Linked DNA regions of Homo sapiens: regions 1 and 3 are each linked to region 2. The links are contacts of gene promoters, found by promoter capture Hi-C in blood cells and fetal thymus (Javierre and others, 2016). All regions are on one chromosome and are shown on one strand. Each heading gives the region's core, a stretch centred on a gene start or on the middle of the fragment in contact. The rest is flanking DNA. Distances are from core to core; before and after follow the strand shown.

Evidence for each region. Contacts are between HindIII fragments. The CHiCAGO score rates a contact against its expected background, and 5 or more counts as called.
Region 1: a contact is called between the fragment with the promoter of RBM33 here and the fragment with the promoter of BLACE in region 2, in 7 of 17 cell types (monocytes, total B cells, neutrophils and 4 more). The highest score is 8.5, in monocytes.
Region 3: a contact is called between the fragment with the promoter of HTR5A here and the fragment with the promoter of BLACE in region 2, in 2 of 17 cell types (fetal thymus and megakaryocytes). The highest score is 7.6, in fetal thymus.

Annotation. Positions count from the first base shown.
Region 1 is chr7:155,643,027-155,646,277 of GRCh38, reverse strand. It overlaps RBM33 (RNA binding motif protein 33), which reads right to left and starts at 1,617. Exons shown (of 18, transcript NM_053043.3): 1 at 1,359-1,617. The coding sequence starts at 1,401. It overlaps RBM33-DT (RBM33 divergent transcript), which reads left to right and starts at 1,872. Exons shown (of 3, transcript NR_126344.1): 1 at 1,872-2,064; 2 at 2,674-2,810. RefSeq lists a silencer at 1,290-1,799 and an enhancer at 1,724-2,678. The HindIII fragment of the contact is 4,649 bases long and covers 1-1,869 here.
Region 2 is chr7:155,366,516-155,369,902 of GRCh38, reverse strand. BLACE (B cell acute lymphoblastic leukemia expressed) reads left to right here and starts at 1,970. Exons shown (of 6, transcript NR_103545.1): 1 at 1,970-2,094. It overlaps LOC105375593 (a long non-coding RNA gene), which reads right to left. Exons shown (of 3, transcript XR_928236.4): 3 at 1-101. The HindIII fragment of the contact is 7,901 bases long and covers 1-3,387 here.
Region 3 is chr7:155,068,935-155,072,417 of GRCh38, reverse strand. It overlaps HTR5A (5-hydroxytryptamine receptor 5A), which reads right to left and starts at 2,094. Exons shown (of 2, transcript NM_024012.4): 1 at 778-2,094. The coding sequence starts at 1,518. It overlaps HTR5A-AS1 (HTR5A antisense RNA 1), which reads left to right and starts at 861. Exons shown (of 2, transcript NR_038945.1): 1 at 861-1,384; 2 at 3,173-3,483. RefSeq lists enhancers at 719-1,545, 2,333-2,402 and a silencer at 2,133-2,222. The HindIII fragment of the contact is 4,035 bases long and covers 1-2,923 here.

The DNA.
Region 1 (3,251 bases), core at 368-2,867, 280 kb before region 2:
GAGAAACGTAAAAGAATACACAAGCATATATTCCATTAGCCATCAGCATAACGTCTTCACATGTTATTCAGCCTCTAGAAAACTCCACTGTACACTACTGAAAGAAAAGAGAAAAAATACAAATAACACCTTAGTCTTTCTAATGAAAAGAGTGTTCACCCAAGAGTTCCCAGGTTACACTGGGAATGCTATAAAACAAGTAATTCTGACCCCCAGAAAGATAGGTGAACTATACATTTTAAAATTTTAATTAGTCTCAGATGTAACACGCAAACATCATGTATTTAAACTGAAAGAAAAGTGGCATATAGCAAACCAAATTGCCAGAAGCGACATTCCTACACTTAGTCTTTTTTGTTTTTCCATTTTGTCAGGCAAACGTTTTGACAGTTGGGCCAAAATTCCTAAACAGGATGATAACAACGTAACCATCTGCTAGCATTTACTAAAAAATACTTCTCGAGTATACACTAGACTGGCTTTTCAACGTTTCAATGGTAAGAACTAATCCCAAATGCTTTTGTTATCCATATTTTACCATCTTTTCAAAGTTTTCAAAATAATCACTTAAAAAGTCACTTTCAAGTATCTCTCCACGTTTTTAAAACCCCCAGTGATATGTAATTTTACCTGAAAGTAATTTACCTACAATTTTTTAGAGATAGGTGTTTCATCAATACTGTTTATGCTTGCAAACAAGAAAAACTATCCAAAGGAACTGACTCAGTATCTAAACCTTTTGTGTCACGTTTTCACTTTTGGAAGACGCACATAAAACACTAACAGGTTATTAGACAACAAATAAGTTAATTTAAAACAGGGATTTATTGAGACTTTCTCAAGAAATCTCACTTTCCAAACTGGCCTACTGTCGCACATTCCTTCACACAGGTGAATCTTTTCGTTATGTTTTTGTAATGGGCTTCAAATCAATCTAAATCTGTCAGGATGGCCCCACAATCTTAAACACCCACCCTACAGCGACCTGCCCCGCTCTCCCTAAGTGACACTGTCTCGGGGGGTGGGGGGGGCGCTCTCCTACCCATAGGACACCAGGCCGGCTTCGGCACTTAATGCCCGCCAACGCCAGAGATGGGCCTGACACTTAGGCAGCCTTGCAAAGTAGAGGACACACAGAAGTTCACAGGTAAGTACGATCTGCACAGCGGAGAGGAGGAGCGAGAAAGGGAGAATGACAATAGCGAGGGAAGGCGAGGGAGAAAACGGAATAGGCCGAACACAAAGAGAGTCGGAGCCGGGGAGAGCCTCGTCCTCTCCTAAGCGGGGAGGCCCCCCGGCCTACACCCCCGCCCACCGCGGCGCGGTCCTGGCCCCCAGAGTCCGGCTGCCTCACGTACCTCCGGCGCCTGCTCCTCCGCTCGCTCCCAGGGCGGCCGCCATGGCACTCGCGGGGCCCGGCCTTCAGCCTCCCCCACCAAGCCAGCTGGTGGGCCGACGTGCCTGGTCCGGGCCCGGGTACGGGTGACGGAGGACAGAGAAGGGAGGGGGCTGCAGGAGGCAGAGGCGAAGCCGGGCGCTTCGCGGTCCACAGCTGGCCCTTCGCCTCCGCAGGAAGAAAACAACAAACTACCGCAACATGGCCGCGCGCCCGCGCCCGCCGCGGTGCACCCTGGGATGATGGAGGCCGGGAGGCGGGCGGGCGCCGGGGCCTGCCCCCGCCGAGGCCGCAGCAGCCCTGAGGCCGCCGCCGTGTTTCGGGCGGTGGGCGTGCAACGCAAACACGCGGCAGTCACCTCCGCCCGGCTCCTGAAACCCAAATGTTTGAAGCAGGGCGGGGACGACTGCTGGCCATAGGTCGATTCCGGGTTCAGTCGTAAGGCGCTTTGCAGCAGTCGGCAAAGCGAAGCTTTACGGCAGCCCGTCTCCCGTTAGGAGCCGGGGAGGCAAGGTCCAGCGTACGGTCCGGGGGAACCTTAACTGTCGTTTCTGTGCCTGGACAGTAGGTTGGAGAGTGGGGTCTGAATGAGCTACAGTAGTGAACGCCGACGGCTTGTGTTGAGGGCAGGAAAGGGTGCACACAGCTCCGGCAGGTGCTTCCGCGAGGTGAGATGAGTGCCGCGCGCGCCGGGCTAACGTGCACGCGCACTCGTGCGGCGCCCGCGAGCCCTCACTTCCTACAACCCGAGACCCTCCGGACCCGCGACCCCGGACCCCCGTCCCCTTCTCCGCGCCCGGCTGGGCAGCGGGCAGCGCCGGACCCTGATGGGCTCTCGGCCCTTACTGCCCCTGCGCCTTGCGGCCCTGAGAACAAGACGTGAGCAGGACGGATAGCGCCCGGCACTCATGTCTGAGTTTGCATTTTGAGCAGTGAGAAAGGTTAAGAAACGAAATCCTCATACTTGACATAAAGGAAAGGGTGCTGGGTGGTCAGACAGCTGTGGACGAAAGGGCTCAGGGGTTTTGGGGTGTGGGGCCCGGGAAGGCGCATCTGAGTGGTCGCAGTCGGGGAAGGGGGTTGATTAAGTACACACCGGCTGTAAACATTGATTCCATATCGGTCAATGTGGGGCTTAGGTGAGGCGTTCTGACCCAGCAATGAAACTGGAAAGGTAGGCAGGGGCCAGGATTCCGGACTTTGGGACGTTTTTCTGAGTCTATGGGGTCTATTGAAAGATTTTAGAAACAATTTACATGGTAAGATTTGTATTTTAGAAAGGTGACTGATACAACAACGTAGAGGACCCTGCAATGTGGAGAGGCATGAAACTGGAGGTCCAGTGCCGTGAGTTAACAATCAAGACGTCCATACAGGAGATGCATTGGTGGATGGGTGAAGAGATGATAAAACGGTACGTATAATAAAATGCTGGCCGGGCGCGGTGGCTCACGCCTGTAATCCCACCACTTTGGGAGGCTGAGGTGGGTGGATCACGAGGTCAGGAGTTTGAGACCAGCCTGACCAACATGGTGAAACCCCGTCTCTACTAAAAATACAAAAATTAGTTGGGCGTGGTGGCACGCGCCTGTAATCCCAGCTACTCAGGAGGCTGAGGCAGGAGAATTGCTTGAATCGAGGAGGCGGAGGTTGCAGTGAGCCGAGATTGCGCCACGGCAATCCAGCCTGGGTGACAGAGCGAGATTCTGTCTCAAAAAAAAACAAAAAAATTATTCAACTGTGAGAACTCACTCCCCAAAAAAAATGTTTTGCAAGCAACTCATTGAAAAATGGTCTCTATTAAAAAGCACGTTAATACATCCATATTTAAATGGCTTGAACTCTTTATCACCTT
Region 2 (3,387 bases), core at 721-3,220:
ATGAATTTTAAAGCGTTGGAGTGATCACAGGATGTCCGTCCGAGTTTCACAGTTAGCGAGCTGCTGAGCTGAGCCGAGCTGAGGGTTGGCAGGGTAGAGTCCTATGGGAGAAACACTGCTTGGATCACAGAGATTTCTGTGTATCAGGAACCAACAAATACTAAGTAAGCACTTGCTGTGGCTAAATGCTTACCACATCGGCTGAGTAGGGGGTGTGCAGATGGGGGAGTCCCACAGCCCCCAAAACCAGCTACAACATCCACGTTTTACTCAGACAAGGGGCCCTCAAGCACCACCTCATGCCGAAGTGCTGCTTCACGTGAATAGAGCTAGGATTCTAAGCCAAAAGGCCTTTCTAGAACTTTCTGCATGTACCAAAGAAGCTGCTTCCACCTCACTGCCTCCTTTCCACTGTTAGTGTTCTGCTGAGGCTTCTCTTGGGCTCTGCCTCTCCCTGCCCAACACCTGAGAAAGGCCTGATCAGTGCTGGAGGCACTGGGTGGCACCTCTCCTGCGGACGTGCTTCCCACGTAAGGCAGGTATAGGGAGACCTGCCTGTCTAGAAAGACATATGTTTACATGTCAGAGAGAAACACAACACCTGCACTCTCTAACCATTTCCTGAAAGACCCCTCTTGACACACCTTAGGGGCTTCAGGGCCACACTGCCTGGCACAGCTGGTTCCCAGTGTGGACCTGTCTCCACTGCCAGCCCCTGCCCCACCCTCTCCACCTGAGTCCTGATCCCTGGTGACCAAGAGAGGCTGTGCTGCTTCTGGCCTTCACAGTAAGCCAGATGGCCTGGGAAGCGAGACTCTCTCTGCCTCCCAGCACTCCAGGCTGCAGTTGCTGTTTCATCATCCATGGGTGTAAAACACCAAGCAAGTGACATGATACAGAATGACCTCCCTGTGCTGGCAGTGGCACCACAGAAACAGGAAGACTCAGAGCCAGAAGCTGCCTGCGCAGATTGCCATTATGGAGCCTGGGAAATCAAGTCCTAGAAAGATTATCTGTTTTTTTTTTTTTTTTTGAGATAGGAGCTTGCTCTGTCGCCCAGGCTGGAGTGCAGTGGTGTGATCACTGCTCACTGCAGCCTCTGCCTTCTGGGCTCAAGCAATCCTCTAGCTTCATCCTCCCAAGTAGCTGGGACTACAGGCATGCGCCGCCATGCTTGGCTAATTTTTTAAACTTCTTGTAGAGACAAGGTCTCACTATGTTGCCCTGGTTGGTCTTGAACTCCTTGGCTCCAGTGATCCGCCTGCCTCCAGTGATCCTCCCACCTCGGCCTCCCAAAGTGCTGGGATTACAGGCATGAGCCACTGTACCTGTCCTAGAAAGATTAAAGGATACCTCTACGTCTACCTCTACCTCTACCTCTACCTCTACCTCTACCTCTACCTCTACCTCTAACCTCTAACCTCTAACCTCTAACCTCTACCTCTACCTCTACCTCTACCTCTCCCCACGGTCTCCTTCCACGGTCTCCCTCTGATGCCGAGCCGAAGCTGGACTGTACTGCTGCGATCTCGGCTCACTGCAACCTCCCTGCCTGATTCTCCTGCCTCAGCCTGCCGAGTGCCTGTGATTGCAGGCACGCGCCGCCACGCCTGACTGGTTTTCGTTTTTTTTTGGTGGAGACGGGGTTTCGCTGTGTTGGCCGGGCTGGTCTCCAGCTCCTAACCGCGAGTGATCCGCCAGCCTCGGCCTTCCGAGGTGCTGGGATTGCAGACGGAGTCTCGTTCACTCAGTGCTCAATGGTGCCCAGGCTGGAGTGCAGCGGCGTGATCTCGGCTCACTACAACCTACACCTCCCAGCCGCCTGCCTTGGCCTCCCAAAGAGCCGAGATTGCAGCCTCTGCCCGGCCGCCACCCCGTCTGGAAAGTGAGGAGCGTCTCTGCCTGGCCGCCCATCGTCTGAGAGGTGGGGAGCACCTCTGCCTGGCAACCACCCCGTCTGAGAAGTGAGGAGCCCCTCCGTCCAGCAGCCACCCCGTCTGGGAAGTGAGGAGCGTCTCCGCCCGGCAGCCACCCCGTCCGGGGGGGAGGTGGGGGGGGTCAGCCCCCCGCCCGGCCAGCCGCCCCGTCCGGGAGGTGAGGGGCTCCTCTGCCCGGCCGCCCCTACTGGGAAGTGAGGAGCCCCTCTGCCCGGCCAGTCGCCCCGTCCAGGAGGGAGGTGGGGGGGTCAGCCCCCCGCCCGGCCAGCCACCCAGTCCGGGAGGGGGGAGGGGGGTCAGCCCCCTGCCCGGCCAGCCGCCCCGTCCGGGAGGGAGGTGGGGGGATCAGCCCCCCGCCTGGCCAGCCGCCCCGTCCGGGAGGTGAGGGGCGCCTCTACCCGGCCGCCCCTACTGGGAAGTGAGGACTCCTCTGCCCGGCCAGCCGCCCCGTCCGGGAGGGAGGTGGGGGGTCAGCCCCCCGCCCGGCCAGCCGCCCCGTCCGGGAGGGAGGTGGGGGGATCAGCCCCCCGCCTGGCCAGCCGCCCCGTCCGGGAGGTGAGGGGCGCCTCTGCCCGGCTGCCCCTACTGGGAAGTGAGGAGCCCCTCTGCCCGGCCAGCCGCCTCGTCCGGGAGGGAGGTGGGGGGTCAGCCCCCCGCCCGGCCAGCCGCCCCGTCCGGGAGGGAGGTGGGGGGATCAGCCCCCCGCCCGGCCAGCCACCCCGTCCGGGAGGTGAGGGGCGCCTCTGCCCGGCCGCCCCTACTGGGAAGTGAGGAGCCCCTCTGCCCGGCCAGCCGCCCCGTCCGGGAGGGAGGTGGGGGGTCAGCCCCCCGCCCGGCCAGCCGCCCCGTCCGGGAGGGAGGTGGGGGGATCAGCCCCCCGCCCGGCCAGCCGCCCCGTCCGGGAGGTGAGGGGCGCCTCTGCCCGGCCGCCCCTACTGGGAAGTGAGGAGCCCCTCTGCCCGGCCAGCCGCCCCGTCCGGGAGGGAGGTGGGGGGGTCAGCCCCCCGCCCGGCCAGCCGCCCCGTCCGGGAGGTGAGGGGCGCCTCTGCCCGGCCGCCCCTACTGGGAAGTGAGGAGCCCCTCTGCCCGGCCAGCCGCCCCGTCCGGGAGGGAGGTGGGGGGGTCAGCCCCCCGCCCGGCCAGCCGCCCCGTCCGGGAGGTGAGGGGCGCCTCTGCCCGGCCGCCCCTACTGGGAAGTGAGGAGCCCCTCTGCCCGGCCAGCCGCCCCGTCCGGGAGGGAGGTGGCGGGGGTCAGCCCCCCGCCCGGCCAGCCGCCCCGTCCGGGAGGTGAGGGGCGCTTCTGCCCGGCCGCCCCTACTGGGAAGTGAGGAGCCCCTCTGCCCGGCCACGACCCCGTCTGGGAGGTGTGCCCAGCGGCTCATTGGGGATGGGCCATGATGACAATGGCGGCTTTGTGGAATAGAAAGGCGGGAAGGGTGGGGAAAAAATT
Region 3 (3,483 bases), core at 845-3,344, 300 kb after region 2:
TCTTTCCTGGATTTTTAATTTCCTTCCGCAGCTTTACTCATGTTCAGGAAGGCAGACAAGTGGTCCTCAGTCACACCTACAACCTAATAGGGCTGTGGGGGATAGACCCATAAAGTAACACCCTAAGGCAGTGGAAGCAGATAACAAATGCAGGCTCCGGGACTAGTGCAGTCAACATCTTCAGTCTTACGTCAGGACGGGAGGATGCCACAGAATGACAGTAACCTAGGTGATACCATATTTTTAATAAACCGGCTGCTGTAATTTGCAAAGAAAAAGAATAGACTAGGATGAAATGCTAACCTGCATCACCTGACTCATGGCAGTCTTCTTATCAAATCATGCTCCCATCCCTGCCTCCCCTCCTCCTGGAACACCCCCATTCTAAGTGCTGGAAGCTGCTAGTTTTTTCCAGTGTACTGAATCAGCGTACCCCAGATACCAGCTTATTCAGATGTTCTAAAGGGTGTTATAGATCCATAGAATTTGGGGGCCAAAGGGGACCCTGCAGAATGACGCAGTCTGAACTCCTCGTGTTCTGTATATTTAACAAACAACCCATTAGAGAAGGAACATGATATGATTAGCCCTGTGAGAGGGAACATGTCAGAGCAAAGTACATCTCTGATGCTTTCTTCCACTCTCCCAGTTTACTCCCCCCACTCCCAAACACAAAAAGTTCCATTTTCTACAAGTGTGGGGGTGGGGCAGGTGGCCTGGGGATATAGCCTGTACAGATGCAAGTCGAGTATTTTTAAGGATTGCTGAGATACCCACCTCCACAGCTTCGGATATGGGTGAGACGCTATTGGTCTTCCTGGAGCCCACGCGGAACTTGGCAGCCTTGTAGATCTTCCAGTACACGAAGAGCACCACACAGAGCGGCAGGTAGAAGGCGCCTACGGTGGAGAACACGGCGTAGGAAGGCTCGCGGCTTACCTGGCACTCCTCGCTGCCCTCAGAGTACGTCTCTCCCCAGCCAAAAAGCAGCGGGGCCAGAGAGATGACAGCGGAGAGTGCCCAGGTGAGCGCGATCATGACGTTGGAGACGCACTTGCGGGTGCGGAGCGTGTATTCCATGTGGCGCGTGATGGACCAGTAGCGGTCCAGGGCTATGGCCGTCACGTTCCAGATGCTGGCCGTGCAGCAAAGCACGTCGCACGCGATCCAAAGCTGGCACAGCCTCCGACCTAGCTGCCAGCGGCGCCCGGACAGCTCGTGCACCAGGCTCAGCGGCATGACCAGCGCGGCCACCAGGACATCCGAGACGGCCATGGATGCCACCAGGTTGTGGGGCACGCGGTGGAAGGTGCGTACACGGAGGATGGTCGCCAGCACCAGCAGGTTCCAGGCGAACGTCGCCGCCACCAGAAAGCCCAGCAAGGTGAGAATAAGCACTCCGAAGACCGAGAGCAGGGGCGAGCTGGGGCGCAGGTCGTCTTTGCCGAGGCTGTGGTTGGTCTCCAAAGGGGAGGGGGTGGAGAGGGAAAAGGAGGTTAGGTTCACAGGTAAATCCATCTCTGGGTCAGGAGACCGCCCTGGGGTACTTGCAGAAGGGGTGTTCAGGAGGACTTAAGGCGGCCACTGTGCCCAGAGCCAATCCGGATGTTTGCAACCTCTGGCCAGTGGGGGAGTTTCTGGAAAGTGCCTGTGAATTTGGCCCCAATTTCCTGCTAGTGAGCATCCGTTGGAGATGGTGTGGCTGCAAGCGCGGCAGGTCTGAAGCCCTCAGAGGCTAAGGAAGCAGAGGCGAGGGGCTGCGTGTCGCAGCCAGGGCCCGCCTAAGCTGTCAGGAGCCCAGGGCTCCTCGCCTTGGTGGAAAGGCTGTTTGGCCGCCCAGAGCCGAGCATCTCCCAGATCGGGGAGAAGCTGGGCGGCCAGCAGCGTGTGGGTGCAGGAGAGGGGCTGGTGCGTCAGAGCAGTCGCTCTCACCGCGTTGTCTCCCTGCCCACCCTTCTCTCTAGGCAGCCGGCTGCAGCCTTAACTCCGTGCTAGGGAAGCCAGTTTTGGGGGAACCTGCTTTCTGGGACCTGCCTTCTGTCCCTGTTGCCCCCGCCACCCCTTCGGAGGCTGCAGCTCCGGAGAGCGAATGCTGGCGCGCCCACCGAGACCTGCCTTATCCAAGTGGAGATCTAGCCCTACGTAAGCCATCAGCTGATAAGGCCATCTCTCCCCGCCTCCTGGCTCAGAGCGCGCGGCTTTGGGGCTGTCCGCGGTGCTGCTGCGCTCCCCGCGCCTGGCGGCTCCCAGTGTGCGCCACCACATGTGGTGCTGTCCGCGGTGCTGCCACCTCGCCCCGCCCGGGAGCAGGAGGGTTGGCGCTGTCCACGGTGCTGCCTCTCTTGCCTGAAATGAGTTTGCCACGTTGAACAAGTTGACCAATGAACTTTCCTCAAAACGTTCCCCTAGCCACCCCCACACGTCCCTCTAGGGGTGGACTGGAGGCCCTAGACACTGCTTTCTCAGCTTTCCATAAGTATTTACTCTTCCTGCAAGAGTTCTGAATTAGGGGTCTAAGATAGTTTCACTAACTTTTGTTCTCCGGAAGATTTTAGCACGTGATTGCTTTCTTCTTACCCAGCTCTCAGTTGCTTCCCTTAAGGGTTGTTTTCCTTAAAGGAGGAGAGGCGAGATAGCAGTTGCTGCTGTTCCTAGAGATGGTTGAGGTGTTGGAGCTAGAATGCTTCACCTGGCTCCAACAGGAATGGCTGAAGAATGCTTTATCTCCTCAGAGTCATAAGGCAGATGGGTAGTCTCCAGTGGTCCCTACTAAATTTGCTTCCTGAGAAGGAAAAATTGGGATACAAGTTATTATAAGAGCTCCATCTCACTCAAAAGAAAGAGGTAATTTAACTCTCCCCTCACACATGCACACAAAACAACCACAAACACATCCACAGAAACTGAGAAAATATCAGAAGCTTCTAACCAGAAATTATGATTGAAAGCACCTCATAAAGAGGCACATGATATAGCAATATAAAAGAAGTTGAAATTTTAAAAATGATGGACAGAAATGGCAGGAAAAAAGTAAGGTGTTAATAAGCTTTGTTTTTAAGTATATAAAATGAGTGTCGTGAAATCCTGTGCATTTACAAGTAAATTTAGTCAGAAAGTTTTAACTATTTAAAGATTAGCAACATGTTTTCATATAAGATTTTGTTTCTTGCAGAGTAAAACAAGTATCAGGAGAATGCACTGAGAAAAGAGAAAGTCCTCCACTGGAACCTAGAGGACGGGACAACATCATTAAATACCGGATTATTCACAGGGCTGTTTCAAACACCACTTAAAAACAGCTGATGGTGACTGCCTGCATGCAGAGCAACTGTGCATGGCCCCAATCTGGAAGCAAGCTTGTGCTTCTTTAAGGCAAATCACCTTCTTGAGGTCATGGAACTAATGGGAATGAGATGTAAACTATGAATCCTCTTCTTTGGAAAAAGTTCTGCATCTAGTCTCAGGGCCTGTTATCTGGAGGAA